Regions from separate parts of the Homo sapiens genome. Here region 1 is linked to region 2. The links are contacts of gene promoters, found by promoter capture Hi-C in human tissues and cell types (Jung and others, 2019). All regions are on one chromosome and are shown on one strand. The core of a region is centred on a gene start or on the middle of the fragment in contact, and the rest is flanking DNA. Distances in the headings are between cores, read along the strand shown.

What was found. The method cuts DNA at HindIII sites, captures the fragments that hold promoters and counts their contacts. A contact is called where the count stands out against the background at its distance.
Region 1: a contact is called between a fragment that was not itself captured here and the fragment with the promoter of RAP1GAP in region 2, in 1 of the 25 tissues and cell types used here (lymphoblastoid cells).

The regions. Positions count from the first base shown.
Region 1 is chr1:21,274,775-21,281,059 of GRCh38, reverse strand. ECE1 (endothelin converting enzyme 1) reads left to right here. Exons shown (of 19, transcript NM_001397.3): 3 at 1,728-1,869. Among named protein-coding and RNA genes, the nearest start is that of ECE1, 13 kb to the left of the region's middle. RefSeq lists enhancers at 2,374-3,350, 3,351-4,329. The HindIII fragment of the contact is 7,958 bases long and covers 645-6,285 here.
Region 2 is chr1:21,665,897-21,672,070 of GRCh38, reverse strand. RAP1GAP (RAP1 GTPase activating protein) reads left to right here and starts at 2,714. Exons shown (of 25, transcript NM_002885.4): 1 at 2,714-2,817. RefSeq lists enhancers at 795-1,994, 5,513-6,013 and a silencer at 2,643-2,792. The HindIII fragment of the contact is 12,626 bases long and covers 1-6,174 here.

The DNA.
Region 1 (6,285 bases), core at 3,374-5,873, 390 kb after region 2:
TGTCACCACTCCTGGCTAATTTTTGTGTTTTTTAGTAGAGATGGGGTTTCTCTATGTTGGCCAGGCTGGTCTTGAACTCCTGACCTCAGGTGATCCTCCCACTTCAGCCTTTTAAACTGTTGGGACTACAGGCATGAGCCGCCGTGCCCGGCCCCTTTTCTCAGTTTTGGAACCCAGTTTTTTTTTTTCCACAGAAAGTGCTTGTGTTCCTCCATCTCTGGTGCAGCAATTCCCAGTCATTTCCTGCCCAGTAAATACCTAACCATGGCCACGTGGCTTCTCAGTACCCTTCCCTCAACTGACCCACTTCAGATCCCCGAGTGCCAGGGTGGGACTCCCTCAGGGCTCTGACCCGGCACCAGGGGCACCCCTCAGGCTGTTGGTGGGGCCGTTGCAGGTCAGAGTCTGAGTCTCCTCATCTTCCCTGACAGCTTCCCCTCTTCCTGGCAAGCCTTGCTCCCTCCACCCTGCCCTTCCCAAAGGGTAAATCTAATCATGTCACTCCAGTCCTCAAGAGGAAGTCCAGGCTCTTAACCTGGCTTTCTGTGCCCCTTAGGATCTAGGCCCTCCTCTCCTCTCCACTTCCATTCCTTCTTATCTGGCCAGCTCCTACTTATTCTGACTGACCCAGGCCAGACATCACCCGTTCCAGGAAGCCCTCCCTGATTGAACCCCTGCCCACCCCAGTCTGTTTCTTTATCTGCCTCCCTGCTGGGCTGTGTATTTCCAGCATGGCCCTGAGTTGGTGCTCAGCTGTTAGCACATGACACGGTGTCACTGAACACGTTACCCCACCTTCAGGAGACCCTTCCTGTCTTGTGGGTGTGGGTTTTGCAGGAAGCATCTCTTGGAACAGAGGAGAACCCCAAGCTGCCTTGGGTGTGAGAGGCCTGGGCTGTCGGCCCCCATTGCTGCTGGCTGGTGTGTCCCTCCTCGGGCAGGGAGGGCCCTGCCACACCCTGCACTTCCTCTCATTGTGCCTCCCTTCCTGTTTAGCTAGACTGTTAGGCTGGAGGGATTTTTCCTCCCTTTCAGGACCTGAATGGAGCTATTTCTCCTTGCATCTCTGCCAACATCTCCCAGGATCCACCTCTGATCCACTGGTGGGCTCGGGCATCAACAGCTTTGGGTTCCAATCCCAGCTGTCCCCATTCAGCTGGGTGGTGAGAAGCCAGGGTCTCACCTCTCTGGACCTCAGTTTCCTCACTTGTAAAAAGAAAAATAACAAGGTGGCTCGCGTGTTTTTGCGTGGGATTATGAGGGTTTAATGAGCTAAGGATGTCTGTGCTTCTGGGAAGTGTGAGCCATGGCTGTGTCACCCTTGTCCCTGACCCCGCTGATGTGGGGGCTCTGCAGAGAGCCCAGCTGGGTACTCACTGGATGCCTGCAAGTCCAAACATCCTGTTCTTTTTTGAACTCCTCACTGGAGAAACAGGGAAAAGCTGTAGTTTTTTCCTTCCACTCATATCGAGTGACACAAAAAAACAAGCCTGTCGGGGCCGAGCTGCTTGACTCTCTGATGTTTGGGAGCAGATCCGAGCAGCTGAGCAGGGTGGCTGTTCCTTTCCTGGATTAGGGCTGAATCTGTGGGAACCAGACCACCCCTGAGACAGGAGGCAGCCCTGATGCCTCTCCAGGGCCTGGGCCTGCAGCGGAACCCCTTCCTCCAAGGGAAGCGGGGCCCGGGGCTCACGTCTTCCCCGCCCCTCCTGCCTCCTTCCCTGCAGGTGAACTTCCACAGCCCCCGGAGTGGCCAGAGGTGCTGGGCTGCACGGACCCAGGTGGAGAAGCGGCTGGTGGTGTTGGTGGTACTTCTGGCGGCAGGACTGGTGGCCTGCTTGGCAGCACTGGGCATCCAGTACCAGACAAGTAGGTGCCTTCGTGTTGCATGGTGGGCTTGACTCACTCCTGCACCCGGCTCCGTCAGCTCGGGCGAGGGGGGCTTCCCTGCTTAAGCCGGGGCAGGGCTCTGAGGCTAAGGAGGGAGCCAGGCCCAGGGGGGTCTGGGTGCTGAGATAGACCAAGACCCGGGAAGTGGGCAGCGTGGGTGATATAAAGGTCTCGCACTTGAGTCCACATCCTGTCCCAGCAACTTACTGGCTGTGTGACCTCGGACAAGTCACTTATTCCCTCAGCCTGTGTCTTCTCTAATTTAAATGGGAAAACAGTACCCAACTGGGGGATGGGTCTGCGGACTAGAGATAACATATGTCCCATAGCTGGTGCCTCGTAGGACTTCTTCAACTTTAGCTCTGGGTACTGTTGTTGCTAGAATGTGGGGTAATTACACACATAGGCTGACATTGTCTGCTATCTCTAGTTCCAATAAAATAACAATAATGCCCTCTGTTTACTGAATTATTTCCTCGGACCAAATACCCAAATACCACACCCCTCGCTTCAGATGCAATCTCATTTCCTCCTGGAGGCAGCCCTGTGAAGTGTGGTTACTTTTGGCCCCTTTTCCATATTAGGAAACTGAGGCACTGAGATAGAGTGACTTGCTAATCCAATGCGGAAGTTGGAATTCACCCACAGGCTACTGGGCTCAAGCCCAGGCTCCACCTCCCTTTGTAATCCAAGTACGCTCCAGAGCGCATTACACCCCCAGGAGAGCTGCCCTTCCAGATCCAGCTGCCCATCGTGTTCCTTGATCGGTGCCTTTGTCCCACTTTGAATGGTGATACAATTGGGCCACTCTGATCCTGCTGTAGGGGTCTGAGACTGGTTCTCTGTTTCCAACTAAGTGGATCTAGCCAGCTGCCTCACACAGAGTTGATGCTCAGTAAACACTTAAGAAGTGCGAAGGGGTGGATCCAAGTTAGAAATAAGAATGGGGAATTAGCCAAAGCCAGGGCCTCTCAGTCCCCTGTGCCCCAACATCTATTCTTCTGATGGCAGATGGTTCACCTAGTTGAGCAGCCTCTGGGGGCTCTGCTCAGCATCCCACCCACTGACTCGGTCGCTCACCCCATGAGAGAGATTAGGAGCTTTCACAGGATCTTGGAACATCCACTACAGGCTGTGTGGAGCCTTCCCTCTGTGAAGTTGCTGGTCTGTGAGGGTGGCCACGCTGCGCTGGGGTGGGGAGGGGACTCAGGGGCCTAGAAAAGAGCAGGGCCTTCATCTGAGCATTCTTCCATCCCTCCTGGGTAAGGCACACAGGTATTCATTCATTCCACAAAGATAGGTTGTACTTAAGAAATAATTGCTTGATTAGTTAACTATAATGGTTTGTAGGTGTTTTACCAAATGTGCCTGGCTCAGCAGGTGCTTAATGCATATTTGACTAATTAATGACTAGTTTTCAGGCCCTTAACCAGATGTGCTTAGCATAGTGCCTGTGCCATAGGTGTGCAGATAGTAAAATGAATAAATTAATGTTTGAATGAACGAAGGGGTAGGAAGGAAGATCAGGCTGGGAACAGCCTTTCTCTGCTGAGTGTATGTATATTGTGTGATCGTGTCCTGGTGTGTGTGTGTGTGTGTTTGTGCCTCCTCTGCTAACAGGACACAAGCTCGTCATCCTCTCCTGCCACTGCCATGTCGCCTCAGCCTAAATCAGCTCTAGTTCTGAACCCCCTCCTGGTCAGTGTGGACCCTGGCCAGCACGTCTGCACAGCTCTTGGCTCAGAGCAGCGGGAGCTGGCCAGACTCCGGCAGCCAGTGTTACCCTGAGACTGCCCCTCGGAGCTCCAAAGATATGTCTTCACCAGAAACCAGGGGGGAGTCCCCACGGGCCAGCTCCTGATGATCAGACCCAAAACATTTCTGTTGTTATTGCCCAGTGGGGCCCCTTGGGAGGAATCCTGCTTCTGCCTCTGTTGTGTCCCTCTCTGGGTCTCAGAAGGGTTTTCTCCAGCCTGGACCTGGGAGAGGAACATTCTTCCCCTGGAGTGGAGCTGGGCAGAGTATCAGGTGACCCCTGAGCCACCTGGGAAAGCAGTGACCACCCCAGATATTAACAGTAACCTCATTACCCAGGAGCAGGTGCTGGTGCTGGCCACATCTGAGCAAACATCAGGCCAGTCAAAGCAAATCTGGCCGGGCGCAGTAGCTTACGCCTGTAATCCCAGCACTTTGGGAGGCCGAGATGGACAGATCACCTGAGGTCAAGATGTTCGAGACCAGCCTGACCAACATGGTGAAACCCCGTCTCTACTAAAAATACAAAAATTAGCCAGGGATGGTGGCGCACAACTGTAGTCCCAGCTACTCAGGTGGCTGTGATGGTGCACACCGGCTACTCGAGAGGTTGAGGCAGGAGAATCACTTGAACCTGGGAGGCAGAGGTTGCAGTGAGCCAAGATGGCACCACTGCACTCCAGCCTGGGCGACAGAGCGAGACTCCGTCTCAAAAAAAAAAAAAAAAAAAGAAAGCAAATCTGATGATTCTGAAGGCCAGCCTCTGGGAATGTCTGGACACATAGTACGTGTTTACTTACCTTCCTGCTATGCTTCCTTTCCAGAAACATGCTGGTGCTTTGCAAACAGAGGCAGCAAAACAAACAATACATTCTCCAAGAACATATTTTAAAGAAAGCATTCTACACAGTTTTGAGGCCAGGCTGTCCAGATGAGTGTCTGTAAATTAAATCTAGGATCTGTTTCTGCTTTCTCAATTGATCACGCATGTCCCAACGGAAAGAAATGTTTGCTGCCTCTGCAGGTGGTGAACAAGTGCTGAATAAGGCCTTTCATTCATTCGGTTGTTCATTCAAAAACACGTATTGAGGCCGGGCGCAGTGGCTCACGCCTATAATCCTAGCCCTTTGGGAGGCCGAGGCGGGTGGATCACCTGAGGTCAAGAGTTCAAGACCAGCCTGGCCAACATGGTGAAACCTCGTGTCTACTAAAAATACAAAAATTAGCCAGGCGTGGTGTTGGATGCCTGTAATCCTAGCTACTCAGGAGGCTGAGGCAGGAGAATTGCTTGAATCCAGGAGGCAGAGGTTGCAGCGAGTCGAGATTATGCCACTGCACTGGGTGACAGAGCAAAAACTCTGTCTCAAAAAAAAAAAAAAAAAAAAAAAGCACGTATTAAACAGCTGCTAGTTGCCAAACACAGTACTAGACAATGGAAATATAAAAACGCATAGGATATTGGCCTGCCCTGAAGTTCACATTCTAGTAGGAGAAATGAACAAGGAGATGGTCGTGACATAGCACAGTAGCAGAGCAGGCACCCAGGCCGCTGAGGGGCCCAGAGAGGGAAGGGGGTCGATGAAGGTTTCCGTAGGAAGAGGGGGCCTTAGATGAGGGGGCCTGGAAACCATGAGGTCATCAAAATGCATGAAGCACTTCCTGGGCCAGGAATATTTCATGAAGTTTCTGCAAACCATTAAATAGTTAAATAATCAAGCCATTGCTCCTTAAGCACCTCGTAGGTCCCTAGCCCAATGTCCAGCAAAGTAGGCACTTAGTGAAGAACTCAAATTTCTGAGACTGCTTTATTTATTTATTTGAGACAGAGTCTCACTCTTGTCGCCCAGGCTGGAATGCAGTGGCGCGATCTTGGCTCACTGCAATCTCCGCCTCCCGGGTTCAAAAGATTCTCCTGCCTCAGCCTCCCAAGTAGCTGGGATTACAGGTGCCCCCCATCATACCTGGCTAATTTTTGTATTTTTAGTAGAGACAGAGTTTCACCATGTTGGCCAGGCTGGTCTCGAACTCCTGACCTCAGGTGATCCGCCCACCTCGGCCTCCCAGAGTGCTGGGATTACAGGCATGAGCCACCGAGCCCGGCCTCTGAGACTGACTTCTGGGACTAGTTTCTTGTTTTGTTTTTAAACCCAAGTCCCTGTGTGATAACAGCAAAAACCTTTATCAGTTAATTAATCAGTCTGTCTCTCTCTCACACACAGACACATACACACAGATTCTGATGCGTCTTCCCGCGTTAGGCTCACTCTCAGCCTGTCTCCTGGGCATCTCCACCAGCCAAGATGTTGTAAAATTTTCCTTCCTGTGGTTCGATGTGTGAAAACAATAGGTATTCTTTTCCTTCTCTAAGTATGGAGTTATATCGTAATACTCAACAGGCTCTTTCAACCTACATGGAAATTCTTTCCCTGCCCCATAAAGATTCTGGTGCCTTCCCCGAGTTTGGGAGTGGAGCATGCAACTGTGATTAAGATGATTTGATTTAGAGATATTTAAAATGGCACCATCACCCCCACCATTTCCTTTCTCTGTTTTCATGTGTAATGGCTCCATAATTTTTTTATGGCACACCTCTCGGCTGTGAACAATAATTTTTAATTGTTGTGTGATTATCTCAAAGTC
Region 2 (6,174 bases), core at 1,465-3,964:
CTACGGCACGTGCTGCCTCCTCGCCAGGGGCCCTGACAGTCTCAGAATGGTGCCCCCCAGGACACATGGGAGATTATAAGCCTCTTGCATTGAGGGAGGTTTTCTGTAAAGGGGAAAATGCTGTAATTGAAAAGCTCCTTGATTATAAAGAAGAAATAGAGACGCCTGGCATAGAAGAGACTTCGTTCTTTGGTCTGCTCAGCCAGGGTCGGGGACATTCAGTACCCCCAGGCTAATAGGCTCTTGAGCTCTTAAGGACCTTGGAGTCTGCAGGTCCAGACTCCAGAAGGTTATGGGACCATGAAGAGGTCACACAGCTGTACCCCTTGGCTTGCTGCATTTCTGCATCTCCAGTGCCTCCATCTGCCCCCTCCCTCCAGCTCAGGTGGGACACCTTTGTCTCCACTCAGCACTCTGGGATGTACCATCAGCAATGCCTGGCCAGAATTGAGGGTCTCTGTCTTAAAGCGTGGAGGAGAAAGGGGCCCTTTTGGAACAGGAGTTAGGGAAGCAAGAAGCATGAAGATTGTGCTCAGAATTGAATTCAGGGAGCAATGCATAAAAAAGCGAGAGGATGGGTAGAGAGATGGTGCTTAAAAGGATCCTGGAATCCATGTACTTCTGAGATCTGTGAGCCCCGCCCCTGCTGAAGATGAGCCAGCCCCACCCAGTACATGCTGCCCTTGAAGGTCTATAGGCATTCTGCTGGCATTTCCTAAGTAGGATGTATTTGACCAAGCATCTCCCAGGACCAGAGCCCTGCAGGACATACCTGTCTAGGGCAGTTGCTATGCCCCACAGTCCCTTCACCATCATCCCCAGAAGCGCCTCGGCCAGCCTCATTCAACTTCTTGCCTTTTTATTACAGTGTTTGAGCCAACTATATAGTCCTGGTGTATTCCTAGGCAGGAGATCAAAGGGCCCCCCGGGTTGGGTGGTCCATGAGTGAGCATGTGATACCGCAGGAGTCTTCCTCCTGCCCTGACAACTTGCCTTGTACTACCAGTGCTGCTCAGGATGTCTGCAGCCACGAAGCTTCATTATAAATGCAGGAGCTCAGGCTCCAGGCCCACTGAATCTGAATCTGAGTCTACAGACCGCTCCTGCACTCTTAGAAGTTTGAGAAACCCCCCTGGGCTGGGGTCTCTTTCCCATATACAGCTAGGGAAGCTTGCTGGAGGGAGGACTGAAAAGAACAAGTGCCTGATCTACCTTCCCCTCTGCCCTTTCACAGGTGGGTGGATGCGTGGGAAGAGGGTGGGGCATTTCCTGCTATTCCCCCTTATTCACCTTTTCTCCACGGGGATTAGAGTCTTGACCGGAAAACATGGCTCTGGTCCCCAGCCCCTATGGGACTGAAAACCCGGAGGCTTGCATGTCTCAGATCCTCCAGAGGCTGATGTAAGAGTTGCTGAAGACCTCGGATCTTTCCTTTTGTGAAATGCAGCCCATGTGGCCGGGAAAATAGTGGGAGCTGGAAGTAACAGTTGTGGTTTTAAGCACACAGTAGATGCTCAAGAAATATATTGAGTACATGTCTTGGACTTTCCCCTCCCTAAATATTATCTGTCAAGTGGGCCTATTGGACTTGTTGACCTTGGAGGGCCCTGTCGGCTTGACCCACCAATTCGAAATGGTTGAGAAAGAGGTCTGTCTTTGTACCTTTTGCAGCCTGTTTTCCCAGTTCTTAGAACATTGGGGTGAGATCCAGAGATTTCAGAGATCCCCCTGGAACACGAGTGTTCTGTGACGAGTTCATGACCTTGGAGCCACCAACCATACCCCTCACCCGTTGTCCCCAGTTCTGGCCTTGCCGACCCACTGCGTGTTTCTTTGCTTCATGTGGGCTGTTCCCCGGGGAGGGAGCTCAGTGGAGAACAGAAAGAGGTGTGGGTGAGGGCTCCCCCTTGGTGGGGAGTGGGGCACAGGAGCCTCAGGCTCTGTTGACCATCAAAGAAGGGACTCGAGTGGGCAGGCCGCTCACTTGCTGTGGACCTTGGGCAAGTCTCTAACTCTCCCTGGGCCTTGGAAGTCAGGCCGAGGTGATCTCTGCCGCCCCCTCCCTGCCTGGGTTTTCACTCTTGTTCTGATCCCACTCTCTTCCGGGTGCCTCCCTTCCACTTCTCCGTAGCCTGTGGCTCCCCTCCCCACACCCGCCCTGGGCCCGGGTTAGGCTGGGGCGGGGGCGAGCTGCCCAGTCCAGAGACAAAGTCCAAGAGCCGCGAATGGGCTGGCGAGGGTCAACCGCGTGGCCTCTGCCAGGAAGCGCGCCGAGCGCCCGGGTGAGGAGGGCGTCAGCCAGGGCACAGCAGCTTTCTCGCCCAGCGAAGCCTGTGCGCCTTCCTCCCGCGCCTGCAGACAAGCGGAGCCCATGGGGGCCGTGGGCCCCACCTATCCCGACGTCTCCACTTGATCCAGAAGTTGTCCCAGTCCCCTTGGAGCATGAGCTGTTGCCTGGACAGCTGGGCTGTCGCCCAGGTTCTGCCACTGTCTAGCTGTGTAACCTTGAGCCAGTCCCTGCCCCTCTCTGGTCCTCAGTTTCCCCACCTGTAAAATGGGGGCACCGAGAACCCTCCTCCAGGACCTGCGGCGGGGCGGGGCGGCAGGGCGGGGGCCTCCCCGCCGCTCCCGCGCCCGCGGCTTGGGCTCCGCAGTGAGTGGGGAGCGGCGCCGGGGAAGGAGCGCTCCGCGGTCATGTGACGTCCCCCTCCCCGAACTGCGGCGGCGGCGAGCGCCGGCCGCATCTGAGCAGAGCTGCAGCGGCGGCCGCGGGCACCAGAGTGCCGAGCCCAGGACGCCCCCGGCCCAGGCCCTTGGGTGAGTGCGCCCCGCCAGGGCTGCGGCCCTGGAAAGGGGAAGGGGACAGAGGTGTCCAGACTCCCGTCGGCTCGCAGCGAAGACCCCGCGCGGGCGGGCGGGGACGGAGGGTGGGGGCGAACGCGTGGGGGACCCGGGTCTCCAGGGGCGAGGGGTGGGCGCAGCTGGGCTCGCGCAGCCCGGTCTTGACAGCAGCTGGAGAAGTGGGGGGAGGCCTGGACTGAGCCGGCTGAACCCCCAGCCTGTTGGACTTGGTCCAGGCCGCGGCCAGGGGGCTTTGGTCCCACCCCCCTGGGTGGGTGGGGAGTCCAGTTTTCCGCCCACCTCGAGGTGGGGGCGCCTGGGGTTTAGAGGAGGGACTGTGGGAAGTGGGCGCGTTTCCTCCATCCCTGGGGAGGGGCCCAAGCCCTAGCGCCCCCCAGAGGGTGGCGCTCCTGTCCTCAGAGGAGGGAAGTGGGGGCCTCAGATCAAGGACCCTGAGCGGGGAGGGCGGTGATGTCCTTGCATCCCCAGAGACAGGACGCATTCCCCTGTCCCTGACCCCCGCGGCAGAGCGGGGCACACGCGTCACGAAGTTGGGCGCCCCCTCGTCGCCTCCCCTGGCTCGGCAGGATCTGAGGACTCGGTGGGAATTCACGGGGCGGTTTCCGTGCCCTGCAGGGTTTGGTGCCAGCTGCGGGGCGCCTGGGCTTGGGGAAGAAACCTTGTGTACGCACACCTGCACACACACACAGTCTCCGGAGGTGAGCGGCCCCCTCCCTACCATAACAGACCCCAGCCTGTGCATGCCCTCGGAGTCCTTGTTGGGGTCATAGCACAGGCCCGGTGGTGGGGTCAGGAAGAACATCCACTGTTCTCAGGGCTCATTGGCCTCTGTCCCCGGGCTCCATTCCCCTCCCTGCCAAGTCAGAGGTCAGGCCCCTGGGGCGGCAGGCAGGAAGGACACTGAGGGAAGGGGCACTGAGGCAGGAGGGGCACTGAGGGAAGCTGGCCAGGTGGAAGTAGGAGAGAAAGGCAATGGGGGTGAGATGGTACCACTTCCTCCCCATATGAGGCTCTCAGGAGGCTCCTGGCCCCCCCTGCACAGGTAGTGGTCCCTCCTTCCTGAGGGTGTTTGGGGGAAAACGCTATGGTTGGGGCACTGGGGAAGGTTGCCTCGCAGATGAAACAGAACATTGGCCAAAGGTGTCCCTGAATGGGCTTCTGGACTGGCACAGGGCCCTGAGGGCTGTGGCTGAGTGGGGAGGCAGTGATCAGGTCCAGCTGGCCATGGGGGCCCCCCATTCCCTTCTCCATGACCTCAGCCTCACTCTGAGAGCCCCCAGCAGCTGGAAGGTCTGGTAAGGGGTGCGTGTTCCTTGATGGCCTTGGGAAGGGTTCCAGGGTAATGATTAATCCTCAGGTGGCACGAGCAATTTCCCCCTTCACAGCAATATTTCAGGGCAGGCGCTGAAGCCTCCATTGCACAGGTGAGGAAACTGAGGCTCGGAGAGGCTAAATGAACTGCCTGAGGTCACCTAGTCACCTTCAGCAAGGTCTAGAATCGTGGTACTCTGACTCTTGATGGGAGAAGATCTCCACAGCGGTGGAGAGGAGGAAGGGTGAACGCCGTGGTGGAGTGGTCCATGTGGACCTGCTCCCCTTTGCTGCCAGGAGGTGAGGGTGCCTGTGGCTGGAAGCTGGGTCAGGTTGAGGAGAGGGTCCAGAGTCCTAGGCTTGCCTTGCCACCCCTTCCCATGGAGGGAGGGTTGTCCCGTGGAGCACCATAATGGTGCTTTCACCCTGGGACCTTCCCAGCTTGCTTGGGCAAAGCCCTCTCCTCTTCTCTTCTTCCCAAGGTGCCTGCCTGGCAGGGGTCTCAGGAGGCCCCTCTCCTGGCTCTAACTACCTTCCACCCTTAGGAGACAAGAAGGATTCTTCCTTTGGCCTCTTGGAGGGCAGCAGGGAGAGAGGTCTCTGCCACTTAGGCCTCAGGCTCCCACAGCAGGGCCTCCACCTCCCTCTCACCTGGCCCTGCCCCTGCCCTGCTGTCAAATTCTGGGGCCAAGAGGCCCTTTGAGGACTCCTCGGGCAGATCTGTCCTCCATGCTGCCATCTGTCTACGGAGGCCTTTGTCCTGGCTGTCAGAGGCTGCTGAGCAGCCGCATGTGCTGTGCAAACAACCGAGACCTGAGCACGGCCAGACACAAACGCAAATACAGTTAGACTGACAGATACCCTGAGACCCAGACACAGGAACACACGGGCACACCCAGGCCAAGACCCCTGCCCCCGACTCTGCCTGACACACAAGCACTGAGAGTCACACCATCCAGATGCTGGCACGTGTGTACACACAGAGAGACGGAGGTTGTCAGCAAGGAGAAGAGCCTTTTCAGAAGCCCTCGTCTTCTGTCGTCTGCCTCCATTATCTCCTCCAGGGTGCACACATGGTACACGCGCATGCAGGAAGAACACGAGGATGCCCTACGCCCTTAAAAATGAACCTGGCAGACACGCACATGCACCCACCCACACCCAGGCCATCATGGGTGCACACACGCATGAATTACATCAGCTTCCTGCGTGTGGGATGTTAATGCTTCATCACCCGGGGAGGGGAGTGGAGGCCCCCGACCGTCCCCAGCAAAGCCTCCCCTTCCTCCCTCTTTTCTGATTCATGTGGACCCAGCTTGACTGGCCCCAAGAATCCTGGGAAACTGCCTGGTGCTTCCCACTCAGTGGACCCTCCTCTCCTGCCTCCCCTCTGTGTACATACCCAGCGGGTTGCCACGGGAGCCTCTCCCCAGGCTGCTCCTTTGCTGTCTCTGAAGGTGTTGTTCTGCAGGTCCTTCCCAAGACAGGACAGGACCCAGTGCAGGCTCCAAGCGGCTCTGGGGTTCCCTTTCCTTTCCACTTTTGCTAGAGGCATTACCAGGCCCCAGTTTCTGCTTTGTCCTCCCAGCAAGGCTGGGGGCCAGCTGGTGTGAAGGGAAGGGAGCCCTCAGCACTCTCTGCTCACCTCCTTGCATGCCAGGACCTCTGCCAGGCTGGCCCTGGCACCCTGTGCCTCTGAGAGACTGGCGCTGTGGAGAGGTGCTTCTGTGGGCTTAGGTGAGGCCTCCAGGGCAGACATGCTAGATGGGGAGGGGCTCCCAGCTCCACCATGCTCCCTCGGCACTCACACCAAGCCTGCCAGAGTGCTGATTCCCTGTCCAAGCCTGGCCCTGCCTCTTGCTGGCTGTGTGGCCCGGACAAGTCATTTTCCCTCTCTGGGCCCAGCTCCAGCTCTGGGAGGCAGCTCAGCCTGGCTGGGGGATGAGGAAAGTCAGAGGTGTGAGGTGGCAGCCCTGTGCCAATAAGGAAAGGAAGTTGGGC